Linked DNA regions of Homo sapiens: regions 1 and 3 are each linked to region 2. Evidence: promoter capture Hi-C in 16 types of primary human blood cells and fetal thymus (Javierre and others, 2016). All regions are on one chromosome and are shown on one strand. The core of a region is centred on a gene start or on the middle of the fragment in contact, and the rest is flanking DNA. Distances in the headings are between cores, read along the strand shown.

Region 1 (3,343 bases), core at 86-2,585, 310 kb before region 2:
CTCTTCCTGGTCAAGTTTGCATAGTTAAATGCAAGTATGTTGTGATTGTATTTTATCCTTCTTTTCTGCTTTCTGTTTTTCTAATTTCTTCTTCCCTTTTAAAAATCCTCACTGCCGGGGGCAGTGGCTCACACCTATAATCCCAGCACTTTGGGAGGCTGAGGCAGGCGAATCACTTGAGGCCAGGAGTTTGAAACCAGCCTGGCCAACGTGGTGAAAGCCTCTCTCTACTAAAAATACAAAAATTAGCCGGGTGTGGCCAGGTGCAGTGGCTCACGCCTGTAATCCCAGCACTTTGGGAGGCCAAGGAGGGTGGATCACAAGGTCAGGAGATCAAGACCATCCTGGCTAACATGGTGAAACCCTGTCTCTACTAAAAATACAAAAAAAAAAAAAAAAAAATTAGCCAGGTGTGGTGACGGGCACCTGTAGTCCCAGCTACTCGGGAGGCTGAGGCAGGAGAATGTCATGAACCCGGGAGGCGGAGCTTGCAGTGAGCTGAGATTGCGCCACTGTACTCCAGCCTGGGCGACAGAGCGAGACTCCTTCTCAAAAAAAAAAAAAAAAAAGCCAGGTGTGGTGGCAGGCGCCTGTAATCCCAGCTACTCAGGAGGGAGGCTAGTGCAGGAGAATCACTTGAACCCGGGAGACCCAGGTTGCAGTGAGCCGAGATCACACCTCTGCACTCCAGTCTGAGTGGCAGAGTGAGACTCTGTCTCCAAAAAAAAAAAAAATTCTCACTTTCTTCTTCTAAATCCATTTTATAGCACACAACAATTCTTCTCTTACCCAGAATGCTTATTTGTGTGTTAGCTTGTCCCATTTCTTAGTCATTTTCGTTATTCAAAATTATTTAAAGGAGAATTGAGAGTAGGAAGGGAAGACTTCTAATAGTCCTCTTCGTTTAAATTCTGTAATCATAGCTTCCACTCTCCTCCTTTTAGGTCCTCTAACTTTTGATTCTTATACCTTGCATATGAGGCTCTTTCCTTCTTTTTCCCCCCATTTTAGTCATTTTTCTGTAGAAAATTTCTGCTTATGCTTGGGGAGCTAGATATGAATTCTTGTTATACTTACTAAGCATCACTGGTTCTATCTCTAGATGTTTAATAGTCAGGTTTTTAGATCAATAGGTTTTTAGATCAATCCCAAATTCATAGTGTCATGAAAAGATAGATGAGGAACTGAGCCCACCTGGAGAAGTCAAAGGATACTTGGGCCAAGTGATATAACTAGTTATTGACAAGCTTAAACCATGACCCAGGGTTCTGATGTACAGTTGAATGCCTTTCCTCCAAATCACATTGCTTGCTGTTGAAGCCTTGGCTAGGAGTAATCTTTAGTAAGATCCTTGAATTGTGACTTTTTTTCTTTTGTTTAATTTTATTACAGTTCCTTCCTTTAACAAAAATGCTAAGTAATATAAGCTTTAAGAGGGTTAAAATTAGTCCGGTTTCAAAGATATATTTGAGAATTATGTAGTATCTCTTGAGATAGTCTAGAGATCTTAGAGCTACGTTGGGGCCTAAGGACTGAGAATCGCTGTCATCAGACTAGAGGTTTGAGAAAAGGAGATTTTTATTTATTTATTTTTGAGACCTAGTTTCGCTCTTGTTGCCCAGGCTGGAGTGCAATGGCGCAATCTTGGTTCGCCACAACCCCCGCCTCCCAGGTTCAAGCGATTCTCCTGCCTCAGCCTCCTGAGTAGCATGTGCCACCACGCCCAGCTAATTTTGTATTTTTAGTAGAGACGGAGTTTCTCCGTGTTGGTCAGGCCGGTTTCAAACTCCTGACCTCATGTGATCCACCCGCCTCGGCCTCCCAAAGTGCTGGCATTACAGGCGTGAGCCACCTTTCCCGGCCTAACTACTGTTTCTATAGAAGGAGTTTTCCAGATTGATGCCTAATGTACAAATAACTGCATCATCAGTCCCTGGCTGTCATCATTTTGCTGTGCAAAAAGGGAACATCAGAGAGGGGTCCAGGAGCCACTCCACATATCATTCGTAAATGTTATTGCTAATGGAGAGAGGGATGATGGTGGGGGCAGGCGTATTTGTGTTCATAGAGGAAGGTAGGACTGTAATCTCCATGCCTAGTTTCTGATTGGCATTGATAATATAACCATCTTTCAGAGAGTCAGCTCCAAGAGGTAACTGGGAAACATCTCAGTTTTGCTCCGGGCACTATTTCCTTTGCCATCTATACCAGAAGCTGTGGTGAATGGGAAAGCCATTGCTTTCTGAAGTGCCCTTAGGCCTTTCTCAGTGACTCTTAAGTTTTAAGAATCATTTGGGTGAGCATAATGCTGAAATCCTGTAGCTATGAAAGCTGCACTGCCATGGCAATAAAACTCCCCATTGAATAAGTAAAATGGCAATTTCCAGGAATCTGGGTGGTAGTTATTTCAATCAAGTTGAGAAATGGGATCACCGAGAGGGGGATTTCCGCAGAATCTGGGCTGTCAGGGAAATCTTTAGGCTGTCAGGGAAATCTTTATTCCCCATTGTCTTCTCCTTACAAATTCCAGGAGAGGAGTATGAGGTTATATTTGTGTCCTCAGTAAGCCCATAAAGGTCAGCCAGTGTGCTACCTTACATTGTAATTTTCCTTTTCAACATTCTTTTTTTTTTTTTTTTGGTTAAATTTTACTTTAAGTTCTGGGATACATGTGCAGAATGTGCAGGTTTGTTACATAGGTATACATGTGCCATGGTGGTTTTCATTCGTTTATGTACTGAACATAATCTTAGTACCTCACAGACAGTGCACATGTACTAACACCTTTCCTGAAACCTTAAAATATAAGAAATATAGAAATACAGGTAGTTTGTAAGTCTTTGCTCTTGGGGAAGCCAATTTTGGATTTCCTTTGTCTTTTTGTCCTATCATACTCCTTGAAAGGGGTAGTAAAAGCATTTTTCTCTTTTTCCCTCTCTGTAGTTCACCCCAGTGGGGCACATAGTTGCTGGATTCAGCAACGTTCTTTCCCAAATGATTCTTAAGGCATGCGGGTCACTGAGGTTTATTTTTAAATCCATAACCCAGGGTTCAGCAGTTGTCCTTACTGAATTCCCGTGTGGAGGCTTTCAGCTGCCCAGACACCCCCACGTCTTTACTGGGCACATTCCAGCAGTCCTAAAGTCCTGACCCTCAGGAGTGAAATTCTGGTCTGGTGTCTCACTCCTGGAATTCCTTCATGAGGCATGGCTATGGCATGAATCAGGTGTCAGATTGGAAAGCCAAGAGATCAGGTGGCTTGTGATCATAATATAAAAAATTTCTAACTGGTAAAATGGTTTTGGAGACTTAATGCGTATTGAAAGTTTCTTTCTGCTTTATT
Region 2 (3,499 bases), core at 339-2,838:
TGCCCGGAGCTGATGCAGGTGCCTCATGGGGGGCGCTCTGGGGACCGCGCAGAAAATTTACGAGCAGTGTGGAAATATACCTGTTGGGTAAAAGACAAACTAGGCGTGTGTTTAAGGCACCAGCAAATGACTATTTAGATTAAGAATTTGTTGTAGAAAATTTTATTGAAGTGATGACTTCCAAATGTGATTTTTGGGGGCATTATACACTTGCTTCGAGGTTTAATCTTCAATCCACATGGCGGGGCACCATAATCTCTGGTGCCCAGGGCCCTCGTCTAGCCCCTGTGAGGCCCTTTGCGGTGCCTCCCTTGCCAGCCCCTCCAGCCTCCGCCGTTTGCCCCCTGGGCTCTCCAGTTTCCACTGCCCCCCTGCCCGAGCGCAGCTCCACTGCTGTGTGACCTGGCGTAAGTCCCTTAACCGCCGTGTGCCTCAGTTTCCTCATTTATTAAAAGAGGAGGTTCCAGTGGTATGTACCCCCTAACGATGTGCGAGCATCACAGAAATGACACGAGACACACACTCAGAACATGCCTTGGCGTGGCAAGTGCTGACTGTTGCCATTATTAGGCTCCCCAGCCGGGGTCTCAGGGCCTTGGCACAAGCTATTCCCTCTGCCTGGAGCACTTTCCTCCACTGACCTTTCCTGGCGCTCCAGGTCAACTCCAGGAGCCTTCCCAGTGCAGTCTAGGTGCCTTCTCCTTCCGCAGCGCCTGAACCACACAGGAATAAGTAAGGCGAGAGCGCGCCCAGGGAAGAGCAGGTGTGCAGAAAGGGACTGAGTCAGTCGAGACGTTTCCGCGGGGATCCTTCTCTTGGCAGGCCTGCACCGGGGCCGTGGGGACTGAGAAGATGTGCACAGGTGGCTCCCGAGTGCTCGGGAAGGGCCCCAGAGCTTCTGGCCCAGCTGGAGGCAGGAGGCGGAGCCTCCTCCGCAAAGCTGGATCAGTACCGGGGACGCAGGGCGCACAGCTAGGGCTGGCGGGGGCGGCCCGACTGGGGCGCTGCCTGGGCTCACGCGGGAGCCAGGTGGGGGACGCAGGGAGAAGCAGCCGAGCAGGTGCCGAGAAGGAGGCGCCCGCAGAAGCGCATGCAGGGGCCACGGGGAAGGCGCCAGGAGGCGGTGAGGGGCCGCGGTGGCCGGAACCCGGGCCGGCTGCTGCGGGCAGAGGAACAGGCCCCACCCGCGGGGCTTGGCTGGCACCGCCCGGCTCTCCAGACGGGGCTACGGCCGCGTGTCGGGCCCGGTGGCGACCACGGCACACCACGGCGAGGCAGCCGGGTGGCACCACTGGCGGGACCGGGACGGCGCCGCGGCCTTAGGATCTCTGCGCCGAGGCCCGCGGCGGGAGCCACGACGGCCCTGACCACGCTGACGCCCAGGCTGCGGGCTCCTCGCCCGGACCAACCGCCAGCCACGCCGAGGTCGCACCTCGGGGTCGCCCCACCCGCAACACCTGCCGCCGCCCGGGGCTCCTAGCGGGCGCGGCCTCCGCGCCCAGGCCCCGCCCCCGCGCCCCCATTGGTCAGTCCCGGGGGTGGGCGGGCGGCACAGACGGCTGAGCCGGGGCAAGGACTCGCGGGAATCGCGCCGCCCGGGTCGCTGCCGGAGCTCGCCGGTCGCCCCTGCGCTGCGCGGACCGCAGCCACAGCCGGACTGGTGGGAACGGCGGCGACAGACGGATTGGCTGACAGTCCCAGCCCTCAGAACAGCCCCGGCCTCGAAGCGTTGGCGTCTGCGTCCGCGTCAGCGTCCGCTTGTCCCGGAGCCGGGGCAGGTGCGCGCGGGGGGCGCTCCAGGGACCGCGCTGAGGCCGCAGACGCCGCCCGCCGAGCCCCGCCCCCTGCTCGCCGAACTCAGCTCCCCGTTCGCCGTCGGGGCGTCCCCGGGCCCAGGGGCGGCGGCGGAGCTGATGTGCGCCCGCTGAGCGCCCCCGGCCCGCCATGGCCGCGCGCCCCGGACCGCTCTGGCTTCTGGGCCTGACGTTGTGCGCGCTGGGCGGGGGCGGCCCCGGCCTGCGACCCCCGCCCGGCTGTCCCCAGCGACGTCTGGGCGCGCGCGAGCGCCGGGACGTGCAGCGCGAGATCCTGGCGGTGCTCGGGCTACCCGGGCGGCCCCGGCCCCGCGCGCCACCCGCCGCCTCCCGGCTGCCCGCGTCCGCGCCGCTCTTCATGCTGGACCTGTACCACGCCATGGCTGGCGACGACGACGAGGACGGCGCGCCCGCGGAGCAGCGCCTGGGCCGCGCCGACCTGGTCATGAGCTTCGTCAACATGGGTGAGTGCGGCCGCCCGCGCGGGGACCCTCGGAGTAAGCTGGCTGCAGGGGAGGGGCGCGCATCCGCGGGCGGTGCCGGGCCCTGGCCGAACGGGGAATCACAGACGGTGGACGCGAACCACAGGGGAGTGGGACCGCCGTGGTTAGGGAAGGTCTAAGGGTCATGGGGGCCCCCTGGGCTGCGGGGTGGTCAGGAGCAGAGTGTGGGGGACTGTGGACTCCCAGGCGCTGCCTTCACCCTGCCCCAGACACACCCAGGAGTAAGAATTAGGTGATGTCTTTGCCCACCTGGGCTGCCCCGGGAAGACAGCCTGGTCCTGGGGAGACAGGTGAGTAAACAGAGGCCGGGATGCTGTCACTGTGATAAGGACAGTACTGAGGAGAGGGACAAAGTTCAGCGTGGAAACCTGTGGTCACATCATCGGAGTGACCAGAGCTGAGTCGCGTGCCCTGAGTCCACAGCAGGCTCTTCCCTGTGCGGAGCCTGGGTGGGGTGCGGCTGTCAGGGGAGCGGCTGGGGAAGGAGCAGACTCAGCTCGCTGGGGCAGGGACTGTGGCCTTGTCACCCTGGGCCCTGCACTTAGCATGTGGCCTGGTATAGGGTGAGTGTCCGGTCCTGTGGAATGGCCCAGTGGGCAGCTGGACCCACTGTGTTCTCCCAGGCAAAGCCGGGCTTTTCCTGTCTGCAAACATCTTGTATCAAACCCTGGAGCTATTTATTCCTTAAGATCTCAGATTTTTCTTTTCCAGTACTAAACTCTTTGGTCTATGCTCGTGTAGTTACTGTTGGTCAGGTCCCCCGTCTGCTTTGCCTCCTGTCTGTGGCTAGTGACAGGCCGGGGTCTGGGAGCCAAGGACCACAGCTCAGCCCGAAGTGGGGGAGCTGTGGGGCTGAGAGCAGGGAGTGGGTACCTGCCCCAGCCACCAGCCTCCCTCCACAGACAGCATCATTAATTCTTCATCCTCCCGACAACCCTGATAACAGCCACGGTCTTCATCCCCATCTCCCAGATGAGGACAGTGAGGTTCAGAGAGGCAGCGCCATGCCTAGGACAGCGCAGCCTCTATGTTGCTGAGCCAGGACAGGCCCAGGAAGCCTGACTGTCCATCCAGGGCTCAATGAGATGACATTTCTGTTGTCAGGTCAGGCTTTCAGGGTGCAGAGAGCTTTCTGAGGAGTCTGGGCTGAGGAACACAGGGTACTGAGCTGCAGCAGGTCTT
Region 3 (3,662 bases), core at 1,076-3,575, 360 kb before region 2:
AGTTGATCATTTGTAAAGACCCTATTTCCAGATAAAGTCACATTCACAGTCCCTGGGGTTAGGACATCTTTCTGGGGGATACAATTCATCCTATAACAAATGGTTTAGGGCCGAGCACGGTGGCTCATGCCTGTAATCCCAGCACTTTGGGAGGCCAAGGCATGTGGATCACCTGAGGTCAGTTCGAGACCAGCCTGGCCAACGTGGTGAAACCCTGTCTCTACTAAAAATACAAAAAAATTAGCTGGGCGTGGTGGTGGGTGCCTGTAATCCCAGTTACTTGGGAGGCTGAGGCAGGACAATCACTTGAGCTTGGGAGGCAGAGATTGCGGTGAGCCAAGATTGTGCCACTGCAGTCCAGCCTGGGCAACAGAGCAAGACTCTGTCTCCAAAAAAAAAACCACACAAAAAACAAACAAAAAAATCAAAACAAATGGTTTAGTCACTTTGTAACCTGGACAGAGGAGTGAACATATATGAAATTAACTTTCTTTGGTCTTTTAAGATTTATTACTAAGATTTAACTAGAGTTAAAACTTTCCTTGTCCTGTTGGCCGGGTGCCTTGGCTCAAGCCTGTAATCCCAGCCCTTTGGGAGGGTGAGGCAGGTGGATCACCTGAGGTTGGGAATTTGAGACCAACATGGCGAAACCCCGACTCTACTAAAAATAACAGAGTAGCTGGGCATGGTAGTACACGCCTGTAATCCCAGCTACTTGGGAGGCTGAGGCAGGAGAATTGCTTGAGCCCAGGAGGCAGTGATTGCAGTGAGCTGAGATCACGCCACTGCACGCCAGCCTGACAACAGAGCGAGAGACTCTATCTCAAAAAGAAAATAAAAGCTCTTCTTGTCCTGCTAATTCTGCATTTTGATTTTTGGCAGCATTTAGGAAAGAGCTGAGGTGGACCTGGTGTGTAGCGTTGGTGGGAGTTCCTTCGTTTTCTGGGCTGAATGATTTAATAATAATATAATAGTGGCTTTCATTAATTTCTTACTATGTGCCAGGAATGGACTGTGTTAAGCACTTTATATACATTAATCCACTTAATTCTCATGATAACCCTGTGAAATAGATTATCTCATTTTGCAGAGGAGAAAAGTGGGTCTCAGCCAGTGAAATAACTTGCTCAAGTTCTCTCACCCAGTAAATGGTAGAGCAGTCATTTATGTGTAGCTCTGTTGGACTTCAGAACTCCAGCTCTTAACTCAGTATATACTTTTCCTTCACTTCCTTGAATAGAACTGTTTGGCTTGAGTCTCCTTTTCTCTAAAAACTCCTAGTTCTGGAATGGTGCCAACTTAAGGGGTCAGGGAAGTGACCTTTACTTGTGTTCCTTTGAGCTGTTATTGTTTTCATTGGGAAAGAGAATGTGAAGTCAGTTCACATTTCTTACCTACTGGTTGCAGTCTTGCCATGGGGCCCTAGTCAGATGTGAGATGTTGTAAGTTACTTAAAAAAAAAAATGTCCTAGTGATTAAGAGGAAAAAACATAGGCCTGCTATGTTTATGTAACTCTCTTTTGTATTATTACAAAATTAAACATGTTCACTGTAATACATTTAAGCAGAAATTACAAAGAAAAAAGTAAAAATTCTCTTTTCTAGTCTTTATTTTCTCCACCTAGGCCCACTGGTCAGGGTAACCACTGTTCAAGCTTTGGTTTGTATCCTTACAGGTTTTTTCTTGCCAGGCTTGCTTTGGAACTGCACCTTTACATCCTTTATATTCCTTTAGGTTGGTTGTGTCTCTTCTTGACTCATGAGCCTTACCTCTTATTTATTTTTATTACCATACATCTGGCTTACATTTTTATTTTTTATTTTTTTTTTAGAGACAGGGTCTTGCTACATTGCCCAGGCTAGTGTGCAGTGGCTGTTCACAGGCACCATCATAGCACAGTGCAGCCTCAAACTCCTGGTCTTAAGCAGTGCCCCCTGAGTAGCTGAGACTACAGGACTGCACCACTGCACTGGGCTGCCTTACTTTTGAGTCTCCCTTTGATACTTAAGAGTTCTGCCATAGGGCCAGGCACGGTGGCTCACGCCTGTAATCCCAGTACTTTGGGATGCTGATGGATCACAAGGTCAGGAGATCAAGACCATCCTGGCTAGCACGGTGAAACCTCGTCTCTACTAAAAATACAAAAAAAAATTAGCCAGGCGTGGTGGCGGGCGCCTGTAGTCCTAGCTACTCGGGAGGCTAAGGCAGGAGAATGGCGTGAACCCAGGAGGTGGAGCTTGCAGTGAGCCGAGATCACGCCACTGCTCTCCAGCCTGGGTGACAGGGTGAGACTCCGTCTCAAAAAAAAAAAAAGATTTCTGCTATTGCACCCTTTTCTGTAGTCTTTCCCTCACCTCCTGGTAAAATTTTACTTACCTTTGAAGCTCAGTTCAAGTCCTCCCTTTTACATTAATCCACTGGAAAGCTAACCCATGATAACTCATTCTGCTTCATAACTCATAGCATTAATTTCTACCACTCATTTGCCAGTTGACCATGAAATGCCGTGTATCGTCACTTGTATTTTATTATTTGTTATTTAACTTATCACACATTTGCCCAGTTAGATTGTGCTGCTTGGGCTCATGGTGATTTATTCTTTCTAGTCCCAATTTTGCCTAACACAATGTCCTACATTTAGCAAGTACTCAGTAAATGTTGATGTGATTGGATTTTGTTAGTACTTCACACCCTTCTAAAGATCAGGTGCTTAGAGCCGGAAGCCTAAGGGAACACTTACCTGGCTGACATCATCTTGGCTGCCTGTCAAGATGGGGTGTGTGCCTGAGAGAACTGCCCGTAAATGAAATACTTGTGCAACAGGTTATGTTTTCTCCTTTAGTGGGTGGGATTCAAGACTTCACATTGGGAAAAAGAGATAGTAAGTGTAGGAAGAGGGCTGAAAAGGGGATGGATGGGAGGATGCTACCTTGTGAGAGGTGGGGATATGGCTTTATTAAAAACATAAATATTAAAGGCTGGCGTATTGCAGAGAGAAGCTTCTTGGAACCAGCAGGCTAATTAGGCAAACTGGCTTCTCTGGTGCAAACCAGTTGTTAATTGCCATTTATTTTCTTTGCTATAAAACTGTACCAGCCATCTACTTACTTTCTCATTAGAGTGAATCTGGAGAAAAGGCTTAGGTTAGATTTAGGAAATCCAGGAGAAAAATGCAGGACAGTCAGAGTAAGACCAGGGATGGGCATAATCCTTTCTCTCACTTGTCTTACCAGCCCTAGACCTTAAGGGTGGCCAGGACCTCCTTGCATTTGCCAGTAGAGGTTGCTATTGAAGTAGTGTAAAACCTCTTGTTTCTATTCCTGCTAACTCCTTTTGCCCCATCTTATTTTTCTCCTTCACTGACACCCTCCTATCACACACACATTATTGGTTAGTTATCATTCCCATCTCTGAGGTTCACATATGCAGTGGACCACCCTGCCTTTAGCTGTCCAGACTTTGACTGCAACCTGTCTTTCTATTCCACTCCTCCTCCCCTCCCCCAAATGATTTGAAATGGAGAGGAAAGGAAATGGAGTTTGATGGTTTTAACTCTTCTGTGGCTGTGGCTTAGGGAGCAGAATGTTTTGATTGCTTGATTTAGGGGTCTTGAGGTCTCCTAATACAATATTCTTTTTGTTAATAGAAAGGCCCCACTCCA

Evidence for each region. Contacts are between HindIII fragments. The CHiCAGO score rates a contact against its expected background, and 5 or more counts as called.
Region 1: a fragment that was not itself captured here is called in contact with the fragment with the promoter of BMP8A in region 2 in 2 of 17 cell types (fetal thymus and total CD4 T cells); the score reaches 5.9 in fetal thymus.
Region 3: a fragment that was not itself captured here is called in contact with the fragment with the promoter of BMP8A in region 2 in 1 of 17 cell types (total CD4 T cells); the score reaches 5.4 in total CD4 T cells.

Annotation. Positions count from the first base shown.
Region 1 is chr1:39,175,559-39,178,901 of GRCh38, forward strand. It overlaps a transcript of MACF1 not described here. Among named protein-coding and RNA genes, the nearest start is that of MACF1, 27 kb to the right of the region's middle. The HindIII fragment of the contact is 180 bases long and covers 1,246-1,425 here.
Region 2 is chr1:39,490,048-39,493,546 of GRCh38, forward strand. It overlaps BMP8A (bone morphogenetic protein 8a), which reads left to right and starts at 1,589. Exons shown (of 7, transcript NM_181809.4): 1 at 1,589-2,278. The coding sequence starts at 1,945. It overlaps LOC124904101 (a long non-coding RNA gene), which reads right to left and starts at 1,501. Exons shown (of 2, transcript XR_007065978.1): 1 at 642-1,501; 2 at 1-80. RefSeq lists silencers at 1,088-1,717, 1,818-1,917. The HindIII fragment of the contact is 20,371 bases long and covers 1-3,499 here.
Region 3 is chr1:39,126,398-39,130,059 of GRCh38, forward strand. It overlaps a transcript of MACF1 not described here. Among named protein-coding and RNA genes, the nearest start is that of MACF1, 76 kb to the right of the region's middle. The HindIII fragment of the contact is 1,345 bases long and covers 1,654-2,998 here.